Regions from separate parts of the Homo sapiens genome. Here region 1 is linked to region 2. Evidence: promoter capture Hi-C in 16 types of primary human blood cells and fetal thymus (Javierre and others, 2016). All regions are on one chromosome and are shown on one strand. The core of a region is centred on a gene start or on the middle of the fragment in contact, and the rest is flanking DNA. Distances in the headings are between cores, read along the strand shown.

The links. The method cuts DNA at HindIII sites, captures the fragments that hold promoters and counts their contacts. A CHiCAGO score of 5 or more calls a contact.
Region 1: a contact is called between a fragment that was not itself captured here and the fragment with the promoter of TBXT in region 2, in 1 of 17 cell types (monocytes). The highest score is 5.7, in monocytes.

Annotation. Positions count from the first base shown.
Region 1 is chr6:166,419,751-166,425,595 of GRCh38, forward strand. It overlaps RPS6KA2 (ribosomal protein S6 kinase A2), which reads right to left. Exons shown (of 21, transcript NM_021135.6): 17 at 3,506-3,667; 18 at 132-208. LOC124901460 (a long non-coding RNA gene) reads left to right here. Exons shown (of 2, transcript XR_007059866.1): 2 at 1,891-2,003. Among named protein-coding and RNA genes, the nearest start is that of MPC1-DT, 39 kb to the left of the region's middle. The HindIII fragment of the contact is 2,193 bases long and covers 795-2,987 here.
Region 2 is chr6:166,166,523-166,172,274 of GRCh38, forward strand. It overlaps TBXT (T-box transcription factor T), which reads right to left and starts at 1,329. Exons shown (of 8, transcript NM_001366285.2): 1 at 864-1,329; 2 at 70-334. The coding sequence starts at 1,069. It overlaps LNCDAT (lncRNA divergent activator of TBXT), which reads left to right and starts at 1,575. Exons shown (of 2, transcript NR_166068.1): 1 at 1,575-1,628; 2 at 3,550-4,650. RefSeq lists an enhancer at 1,471-2,065. The HindIII fragment of the contact is 11,647 bases long and covers 675-5,752 here.

The DNA of each region.
Region 1 (5,845 bases), core at 641-3,140, 250 kb after region 2:
TGTTTGCATACACGTTGGGTTTGCCCACATGCGCACACTAGGACAGGGCTGGCCCTGGTCCCCTGACAGATCAGCCACTGAGGCTGCTGCCCTGTGTCTCCTCCTGACACCTGTTTGAGGTGACTGCTTACCCTGCCAGCATGGTGTACAACAGGATCCCCAAACTCCAGATGTCACACGCCGCATCATAGCCTTGACGCTTCAGGACCTAGGAGGGAACGACAGGACACCGGCACGCCCTTCACTAAGGACATTCAGATTGACAGCACGTTTCTCCAGCGGCATCCTACGCCGGCAAGCTGGGGACCAGGAGGAGGGCGGTGCCATGTCTTCGGTGTGACCACTGTTTCTTAAGGCAAAGCCAACCCTAAGGTACTGCAGTGGGACTCCTCCCAGGCCAGCCACATGGTAAACTAGTACTCTTTCCAGACACATGACAGACAGGCTGAAAAGGAGGGCCTTAATTTTTAAGGCAGAAGGATTTTTCTGTTACGGTAAAATATGTATGACATAAAATTGACCATCAAAGCCCTTTTTAAGTGCACAGTTTAGCAGCATTAAGCCCATTTACATTGTGGTGCCAACATCACCACCATCCATCCACAGAGCATTTCACCTTCCCAAACTGAAACTCTGTCCCCATTAAACAACAACTCCCTGTCCCCCAGCCCCCAACACCTACCCTTCTACTGTCCGTCTGTGTGAATCTGACTCCTCCAGGGACCTCATAGGAGTGGAATTATGCAATGTTTGTCTTTCTGTGACTGGCCCATTTCACTTAGTATAACACCCTAAGCTTCCTCCAGGGGTCAGAAGTTCCTTCCTTCTGCAGGCTGGACAATGTTCCGCTGTGTGTGCATGCCACGTTTTGCTTACCCATTCATCCACCGAGGGACACTCTCGTGGCTTCCACCTTTTGGCTGTTGTGAATAGTGCTGCTATGAACATGGGTGGACACATGTCTCTTTGCGTCCCTGCCTTCAATTCTTTTGGGTATATACCCAGAAGTTCCATTCTGGGCTACGTGATAACATTTAATTTTTTTGAAGAACTGTTAAAGCAGCAAAACTTGTATGCATCCTAGGATTACATACTTCAGTAGAGGGCAATCCTCTGATATAGTTACAGTTGAATAACAACAAAGGAAGCCACAATGGTGCTCATGGATTACTGCAGATGACTGGATTTAGCATTAAATATCGAGTCGGGAGAGCTCGGCTCAATTTCCTTAGAGATGAGAGCAAGGAGCCTGTCCTTTTCTCTGTATCGCTGCTACCATGTGTGAGCCTGCACCATGGAGGGGACCAGCCAGCGCATGCTGAATGAATGTGGTGCTCATGGTGCAAGCCTCACTTCCTAATCCATCAGCGGGGTGACCTTCAGAAGTCACTTACACACATGGAGCTTGTGCTTTCTGACTCTGTGAAACATGGTTAATAGATTTTACCCTGCCTACTTTGTATGGTGGATGAGAGTGAAAGTAAAAAAAGTTGGTAAAAGTGCTTTGTAAATGGCAAAGGAATATCACAACCTAGGGCATTCTACAATCAATAAAATCAATATTGTGGGAGACCAGAATATGCCACCCCAAAATATGCTGCATAGGCGTGAGGGGCGCTGAGCTGAAGATACATAAGAAGCAGCAGATGCAGGAGAGCTCTGTGTCCTCCATTTGTCTAAAATCAGGACATGGATTAAGACAAAAGGTACCTACCCCCAACCAGAGAGGACAAAGGCTTCCCCTAGGGACAGCTTTGGATGCATGTGGTCCCACCTGGGACCAGCCTCCATAGGCCAGCCCTGCACCTCCCCAAGCTGCAGCCCCTGGAGACCCTAACCCTCTTCCTTTGTCTTGCCAGGTCTCTAAAAATTCTCTGTTCTTTGTTGCAGATACCATGTAGGCTGGATTCAAAGCCACCTCTGTGAGGATGACTCCTTCTCTGGGCATCTCGCATGCATAAATGAGAAGATGTGTGTTAATAAACTTCTTTTTCTCTTGTTAATCTGTCTTTTGTTACAGGGGTCTGGTCCAGCTAAGAACTTATGAGGGATGAGGAAAACGTCATTTTCCTCCCCCATAATATTATCAATATTAATATTGATTAAGTAAGGCATGAACAGAGGCTTATAACCTGGTTACTTTCATTTTTTTTAGTTTTTATTTTTTGAGACGGAGTCCTGCTCTTTCAACCAGGCTGGAGTGCAGTGGCGTGATCTCGGCTCACTGCAACCTCCACTTCCCGGGTTCAAGCGATTCTCCTGCCTCAGCCTCCTGAGTAGCTGGGACTGTGGGCACACACCACCACACCTGGCTAATTTTTGTATTTTTAGTAGAGACGGGGTTTCACCATGTTGGCCAGGCTGGTCTCCAACTCCTGACCTCAGGTGATCCACCTGCCTCGGCCTCCCAAAGTGCTGGGATTACAGGCGTGAGCCACCGCACCCAGCCAAACTTGGTTATTTTTAAAGGGGCCACAGGTTGCTCAAGTGTCTGGATGACCCCTGCATAACCTAAAACAGCCTCTCAGTCCAGCCCCTGGCTGCACATCCGTTCACGTCTCAGCACGCAGAAGCATCTTTGCAATGGACCAGTGGCCCTGGGTGACCTCTTAAACAACTCCAAGACCCACAGTGAGATGCCAGGCGCCTCAGACCTGGCTGCTCGCTTGACTCCCCTCCCATCGGAGCAGCTCTGGTCCAGTTCCATCAAGAACCCACGGGATCCACACAGACTCTGAAGTCCGCCTTCCTTCCCAGTTCCCTCCTCCCCTGTCCCATTGGCAACATCAGCCACAGCCCTTCCCTTCCTCTCTTTACCACTGGCTTTTCTCAAAGGCAAGAAATTGGGCTTAGATTTATAAACACATCCTTGAATTCAGAACCTAATGGAACTTGTTCCCGGGAAATGTGAAAAGAGAGAAGTTCACCAGGTGCCTGCTAGCTGCTCCGAGCGGGGCTGGGAGCAGACACAGACACTGAACAACGTAAGCTTTCAGTGGCAAATCACCCCGGAGCCCTGCGGTTCTCAATCTGACAGCTGCTGACTTGCTGCTGTCGGGGAACCAATCTGGAGTGAGAATTGGGGTGCAGAGAAAATCCGTAAACTTAGTTGCTCCCTGCGCTATGACGGATCCATTTCCCATCCCAGGTGAACCGCAGCTCTGCGTCCTGGTTGTATAAGGAGACTACTGCATCATCTCTCTAACTTGGAATAAATATGCAGATTTCATCCAAATTGTCTACAGAAGACAATTTTACATAAAAATGTTACTGTTGAAAAGTTTTTTCAAATGGGAAAATGAGAATGATAAGAACAACTACGTTTAAGCAAGATTGGCCCCTGGCTCAAGAGACTGAAGGTTCTCGTTTCTGTTTCCCAACACCACTGCTGACGCAGCTCAAGCCGCCTCTGACATCCCCGCTGTCCGGTGGCTCTGCAGTGGGAGGGGGCAGAGCCTGTCTTTGCGGATAGAGAGGCCTGGGTCTGCAGTCGGGGAATGCTCACCTCCGGGGCCACGAAATTGGCCGTGTAGCAGGGTGTCATGAGCAGCCCGTTCCCCGCGCGCAGCTGCTTGGCAAAGCCGAAGTCGCAGACTCGGATGGATTCTGGGCTCCCCGACTCATCCCTGTACAGGATGTTACTCGGCTTCAGGTCTCGATGAACAACCTGCAAGACAGAAGGCACAGTGCCTACTTGGGGGCTGAGGACTGAGCAGGAGAGGGAGGGCAGGTGCATTTGGAGGGGAGGGTGCATTTGGGAACTGTCTTCCTAGCAGGTCCTGCAAGCAGGCAACAGGCCAACAGTGTCAACAGCTGCTGTCTTCTCCAGAGGGCCCCCCACCTTCTCCCATTCTCCTGTGGTGGTCACTCACTTCTGAGCTCCTGGTGTCACCTGCTTTTACAGTGAATGAATATTTGAGTAAATAAGTGAGCACCTCTCCAAGTTGAGGCCGCAGCTTACTGGAGCTGTCACATAAAAGGAAATGTGGTGAGCTCTGGAGATAGGAATGAAAAGCATTTTAAAGATGATATTCATTCAATAACTACTCCCTGTGTGCCCACCCCCATGCACTGTGAGGTGTTGGAGCAGCACCAGTGAGCAGCACAGATCAGGCACCTGCTGTCCTGGGTGCAGCAACTCGTTGGGGAGACGGACCAGGGCCACGCGATCATGCAGTCACTCTGCAATCATGCTCTGAGGCCTCCCATGGAGGACTGCGCTGGCTGCAATGATGGTGGGGCCAGCACACCTCAAAGCAAAGCAGCTATTTAGGGCACAAAGCAATGTGTTCTGAGGGGACAGAGGGCCATTGTGAGGACGTGTGGCGTGCCTTTGTACAGCTTGGATCCTGAACATCTCAATTGTCCTAATGAAATCCAGTGGGAGGATGTAGAAGGGAATTAAAGGGACACACTCCAGCAGTCAGGCCTGGTTTACAGAGGTCCTGATGGCAAGGCAATCAAAGACTGTGGCTTTACTTCCATTACCTCCCCTCATTAAATACAAGCAGATCTGCAGAAAACATCATCCAAAGGGCTTCCCCTGAGTTTGACTGTACTGGGAAAACCTGGAAGTAAGTGCTTAATGCTCAAGACTGGGTGACCACACAGAAAAGACCCCAGTGTGTGGTCCTGGAAGAATATTCCCGTTTGGAGATGACTGCATTCTGAAAACTCAGGACTACGCACACAGCTGGCTAAGACAGTATTTCCTGCTTCAGGAGAAACACTGGGAAGAGATGGCGCACAGAGGAAACATGTGATACGGTGCAGCTGCCTCCCTGTGAGGCCAGGGCTGGGACCAAGAGCACTGCCTGGAACCAGAGAGTGGGAGTCCAACCCCACTGGCCACCTACTCATGTGTGACCTTGGCCAAGATACTCAAACTCCTGTGCCCCTCGCCTGCACAGTGGGTGTGATCTAGGGTTAGGGAGTCAGTGAATGAAGAGCTTGAAGTGCAGCCTGGATCACGGTGAGGCCCACGTGAACCTCAGGCATCACCGTCATCCCTGCCTCAGCGTCCCTGCGCTCCGGTTAATGAATTCTTTACCCGTTGCAAGTAACGAAAATTCTTAATTTCTTTTGATTAAGGCCAAAGTATTTTTTTGGCTAAAGTTGGTAAAAATGATTTTAGACCCTCAAAGGGTAGCAGAGTCAGCCACCCCAAAATATGCTGCTTTGGCATAAGGATTATTTGGAGCTGAAAACAACTGAAAAGATGCAGATATAAGCAAAGCTCTCTGCCCTCCCCTTCTTTACCTAAAAGGAGGATATAAATGGGTAAAGGTGTCCCTCCTGTCCTCTCTGCCTGGAAGGATGGAAGGGAAACTCCTCTAGATGCTTACAGCCTGGAGAAGCTTCCAGAATAATCTCTATAACAAATGTTCCTAACTAGCCCTCATCTTCTGTTAGTTTCCCATAGACTTAGCTTCCCACAGTCTGCTGCCTTAGAAACACAGTCCTTTTTCTTTGTCTTCTTTAAAAATTATTATTCTTTTTAAAATTTAAAAAATTTTAAAATTTGAGCTCTTTTAGGGCTCCTGAAGGAAGCACTAAACATGGAAAGGAACAACAGGTACCAGCCACTGCAAAATAATGCCAAAATGTAAAGACCATCGAGACTAGGAAGAAACCGCATCAACTAATGAGCAAAATAACCAGCTAACATCGTAATGACAGGATCAAATTCACACATAACAATATTACCTTTAAATGTAAATGGACTAAATGCTCCAATTAAAAGACACAGACTGGCAAATTGGATAGAGTGTCAAGACCCATCAGTGTGCTGTATTCAGGAAACGCATCTCACGTGCAGAGACACACATAGGCTCAAAATAAAAGG
Region 2 (5,752 bases), core at 79-2,578:
CCCCGTGCAGAAGGCGCAGCGCGGCCCCCTCCTCGCTGGTCCCAGACCTGGCGGGCTCCTCACACCTACCTGGCCCCCTCCGTTGAGCTTGTTGGTGAGCTTGACTTTGCTGAAGGAGACGGGAGCCTTCATCCAGTGGGCCCCGAAGTTGGGCGAGTCGGGGTGGATGTAGACGCAGCTGGGCGCCTGCGGCTCCGGCTTGCCCCCCGGCACCCATTCCCCGTTCACGTACTTCCAGCGGTGGTTGTCCGCCGCCACGAAGTCCAGCAGGAAGGAGTACATGGCGTTGGGGTCCAGGCCAGACACGTTCACCTTCAGCACCGGAAACATCCTCCTGGAAAACACGGGGCGGGCGCAGGAGGACCCCGACACTGACCAGGTAGGCCGGAGGCAGAAGCTGGGCACAGAGGCCTCAGTTATTTCGGGGCACAGAGGAGCCCCCTGGGGAACGTCCGAGGGTGACTCCCAAGCTCCCCCTTCCCCGAGCCCTGCCAGGTCCAGGTGGCCTCCTCACCATCTCCACGGCCTCGGGAGGGAGGGGAGGAGAGGACCTGGCGAAGGGTTTCAGTGCAGGAGGCCACATCCCGCGGGGACAGGCGGGGACCAGGGCGCGCCTCGCGGGTCCCGGGATGCCTCCGAGGTCGGGACACCGAAGTGCGCGTTCCTCCTCCCCAAGCTTCCGCGGAGAAAGCCCCAGAAGAGGGGCTTGTAGAAATGCACTCGAGGGAGTTAACCAGAGCGGGAACAAACACAAAGCCCTCCTCCAGGAGAAAAAGGGTTCGACCTCCGGGAACTTGCCAGGTCCCCCAGGCTGCCCAGGCGCTGGAGAGCGCGGCGCGCGCGGGCTCCGGACGCGCACCCACCTGCCGTTCTTGGTCACGATCATCTCATTGGTGAGCTCCTTGAAGCGCAGCCACAGCTCGCTCTCCTCCAGGCCCACGCGCAGTTCGCGCTCTGTGGGGTCGCCCTTCTCGCTGCCCGCCTGCAGCTCATTCTCCACGGCGCTCAGCAGGTGGTCCACTCGGTACTGCAGGCTCTTTCCCGCGCTCTCGGTGCCAGGGGAGCTCATCCTCCCGTCCGGCTCCCCTCCCCGCCGTCCCCGAAGCCCAGACTCGCTACCTGAGATCCACCTTCCCTGCTCTTGGCCGCCGCCCTTCCGAGAAAAGGGGCCCCTTGGACCGAGACCTGCGACGGCTCCCGGGTCCCGGGTCCCGGCACAGACCCGGGAGGAGGGCGCGGACCAAGACTTGGGGGGAGGGGACGGGGGCAGAGGGGTGGGGAGAAGTTATTCCACTTGAACTCCCCAAGGCTCTACTAGTGTAGGTCTCTGGGGACCGAAATTCAGTGCCCTCCCCATAAATAGAGCCGCGGCGGCAGCGCTGGGGTGCTCGGCGGATTGGGCCGCGCACGCTTTGAAGTGCCGGGCAGCCTCCCATTGGCCGAGAGCGGCCATATCAGACCCAGCCGGGCGGGTCTGGGAGGCCGGGGGCCAACAATGGGCTCCCGCACGCCTGTTTCATGTAAATCCGGGGCCCCAGCCCTGCGAGCCCCGGCCCAGCCCCTACACCCCCGCCCTTCTCCAAATGTTTGCACCTCCATCAAAGCGGCGGGGCAAGCCCCGGAGGAAGGTAAGCTGGACGCCCCGGCCTGCCCCAGCCCGCCCCAGCCCGCCCCAGCCCGCACTTCCGCGAGGGGCTGCCCGGCAGCCTGCGATGCTCCCTGATTCCCGCGCGGGGTCCTCCTCGCTTTCCCAGCGCGCCCGGATCCCGCAGCCGCGCCAGGCTGGAACGTTCGCGCGGCCTCACCTGTCCCCGCTCCAGGCGCGCCTCCCTCCCCTCCCAGGGACGAGCGCATTTGGCCGGGCTTTGGGATGCGCCGCGCTCGTCTCGCCGCAGTAGTAGTGCTGTTCTCGCGCCTCCGATGCCTCAACTCTCCAGTCTGGCAGTTTCCGGTGCACCTGTCCCCACACGTCCCTCGCCCACGGAGCCCCAGGCGGCGTTACGCACACCCAGGATCGTGGATCAGCCTGCCCCGGCGTCGGGTGTCCCCGCGGCTCTCACCATCTGGAAAAGGAAGGTCCGCGCGCAGAGAGGGAAATGGACGGAAATAAGCAAAAGCAAAACAACCCCTTCTGAGAAGTGTCCTCCTCGCTCTCTTATAAAAACAGGACTTGTTGCCGAGGTCAGCGCGCGCATCGAGTGTGCCAGGCGTGTGCGTGGTTTCTGCTGTGTCATTGCTTTCACGGAAGGTGGGAGAAGGTCGGGGCTGGCGGGGTGGTCCGGACTAGTGGGACTCGGGGCGCTTTCCCCGCCCGGCCCAGCGCCAAGCGGTGTCGGCAGCGGTTGTTTTATTACCTTTCGGTGAGAACTTACGCGAGGAGAGCGAAGGAGAGGTGACAATGAGCAGGAAATAGTTCAGTGGGGTCTCTTTAAACAGTAACATTCCTCCTAAAACGGGAGCCCAGGAAGGGGGAAGGAGGCAGAAGCTCCCCCTTCCAAGGCCTGGCTTTGCGCTTCTGCACACCTCGCCCATTCGCTGGACGAGGGCCTGCCTCGGGTAGCAGCCTCTGTTTCCCGGTCTCCTGAGCGGGCACCCCAGCCCCAACCCCTCTAGAGAAAGCCTGCGCATCGGGTGGGGCAGCGAGTTCAGAGGAGTCTTGCGCCCTAGCAAGGGGGCTTTCCCGCGGACATGGTATCTGCGCCCCGCGCTAAGTCTCCCCTGCCCCCTGCCCCCTGCCCCTCGCCCCTCGCCCAGCCGGGCTCGCTCCGGGGTCGGGAATTGCTGGGGAAGCCGAAGGAGGGATCCCCGCCCGGGACTCGAGGGATCGACCCGCCTCGCGGTATGCGGAGGGCTGCCAGGAGCCAGTCCCGGGGAAGGGTGCCTGCCGCCCGTGGGGGACAGGGCTCCTTCTCTCCCTTCTCCAACTTACACCGACGAGTCAGGAAGCCGGAGCGTCTAGTCCCTGTCCGCATTTCTCAGTGTCTTTTGATGTCTGGGATGCATGGATATTCCCAGGGGGCTGACCCGAGGTGGGGAAGTTTCCTTCTAGAAAGAGGCACCAAAAGGACCTCATTTGCTCCTGACGCCGGACCCTCCTGACACGCCTTCACTGGCTCATCGGGTCCTGGGCTTTGGGGGAGAGCGTGGTGCGTGTTACTCTCCTTACTCCGGGTATTAAAATGTCTAAGAGGTCATCGCTTTGGCCCAAGGCCTCCCGAGGATAAGATAAAAGGGAAAAGTGGAGGGGAGGTGAAGGAGGAACGAGGGTGGGTCCCAGGCAATTGAGGGCCTCGGAACCCTAGGCACGGGAGCGAAACCTCTCCTGCGGCTTCAGGGCAAAGGAGTCCCGAAGGCTGGATCCCTCCCCTGCGCTCGGACGGCGTCGCGGCCGCTTTTCCCACAGTCGGGAAGCGCCAAAGAAGACTGGAGGGTTTAACAGATCGCTCTAAAACTGTTCCGAACAGGAGGGGCACGGCCAAATAAGAATACAACTTCAGCAGGAAAGAATATTCCGTTTCTAACACGCGTAATAAAATTTCTACTCTCCAGAGAGAATGTCTGAAGCATTGAAGAGTACGACCCAGGAATTGAACCACCCAAGTCGGAGGAGGTAGAGGTTGGAAGTCACCGACTTTGGCCAGCACTTGTGTAGTGTCACCTGTCTTCACTTTCTAACGTTTATTTTTCCTCCCCTTTCTGTGGCTGATTTTCTGATCTTTGTTCCTCGGTTCCCAGGACCAGGCCCACTCCCTCCGCCTTTTCAGCGAAGGCTGCAGTGCATGACAGTTTACAGCCAAAACTTCCTCCAGCCCGGCTATAAAGAATTCCCAGTTAATAACAATGCGCTTCCTTGGGAGGAAAGAGGGGCTGAGGCACCGCCAGCTGTTTCGCTCCCAGGGTCTATCTCTCCTTGGCAAGCCCAGCCATTCAGAGAAAAACAAGACAAAGCCTTATGGCTGGGCCTCAGGATGCAACTGTCCCACCGAAAACATGCTTGAAACATTTTATAAGAAAACACACACACACACCCCACTCGACTCCCAGAGAGGCAGTTTTCCTGGGCCCAATCCCTTCTGAAAAAGCAAAGCCATTTATCTTTAGAAGCAGGCAACAATGAAGCTGTAACAGGCTCAAGGAGGGGTGGAGGACAGCCTCGCGTGACTCTTACCCCACACTCTAGTCCCTCTCTTTCTGCAAGAAAAACAAATGAATTTCTTTTCTGATTATATATGTACTCCTTGTAGAAATATTATATATGTATCTGTCTTCATATATATGTAAAACAGTCACCCACAGTATCTGTGGGGGATTGGTTCCAGGACCTACAAAGATGGCAGAATCCAGGGATGCCCTAGTCCCTTGGCATGGTATTTGCATATAACCTATGGACTTCCTCCATGAACTATAAATCACTTCTGGATTACTTATAATACCTAATACAATGTAACACTATGCAAATAGTAGTTATACTGTATTGCTTTTTATTTGTATAATTTTTATTCTTTCATTATTGGGGAGAGGGAGTTTGGAATGTTTTCTATCAATTCAACCAACCACGGATATGGAACCTGTGGCTATGGAGGGCTGGCTGTATGTTTATCTCTCTCTATGTATATAAATGCTAACCTCAAGCACTAAGCAATGTTCATATTTTGGGGTGTTCCTCGTCTTTTTTTCATTTTGTTCTTCTCATGAGCTCCTTCTCCCACACTGACTAAGCGGACTGATCGCAAACAGTCACAAGTTCTACATTAGAGATGACAGCCATGTTTCATGGCCAATAATTCTGCCACCAATTGGTTTATTTGTCTCTCCCATTAAAAGAAACCCAATGGCTTTTGTTATTGCTTTAAAAGGTGTGTAACGTAATTCTTTAGACTCTTTACCATTGAAAAATTTTTAAAGCCCATTGGGTTGTTTGAGGTGGTTGTGGTTTTGTGGGAAAGAACAGAGACTTGGTTTTTTAAAGTCTTCCTCTCAGGACAAGGATCCCACCCTGTGCACAGCCGGCCCCTCCCTGCTGCTCTAGGGAGAAGGCTTCGTGATGTGCTCCCTGATCTGCAGGGAAGCTGTGGCCATGTGGGGTGGACGCAGGGACTACCGTCAGCCTCAGGCTGCGTCTCAAAACCTGATCCCATCCAAGCTATTTTTTTGGAGTCAGTGGGCTTCGTCACACATGACAGTGTGTGGTTGTTTTAGTGACAGGAGTTCACAGATTAACAACAAACCAACCTGCCCAGTTGAATGTTTGGGAATGTGACAATCCCAAACCTTTCTCCTTAAAACTCTAGTGCTTCAGCTCCTATCTCTTTGGAATTCAAGTTTCCAGAGGAGAAATCGGGCTGCTGGATTTTGATCTCTTCCTCGGTAGAGAAGGGTAGCTTGAGTTTTTCTGCCCAGATACTTAATTTTTTCAATGCCTTGTGGATGATAAGTTTCTTGGCGATAGTTTCAGTGGGAATCTGCTGATTTTGCTTGGCATGCAGGGAAAGCCCTTTCCAACTCAACAAGTCTCTTTAGTTCTGATTGGTATGATGGTGAGTACTGTTTCCACTTCAGGGGTTATCTGTACTTCCAAATCTGAGGATCCTTGCCTAGTCTCCCGCCTCCTCCCCCTGTGTTGTTTCAGCTCTTAGATCTTTCTGCATATATTAAATGGCTTGTGAAATGTTTTTTCCACACCACTCTGTCAATTTCCCTCCATGTCACTTTTGGTTTTTACTGCCTCCAATGCAGATTTTATTTCTCTGTT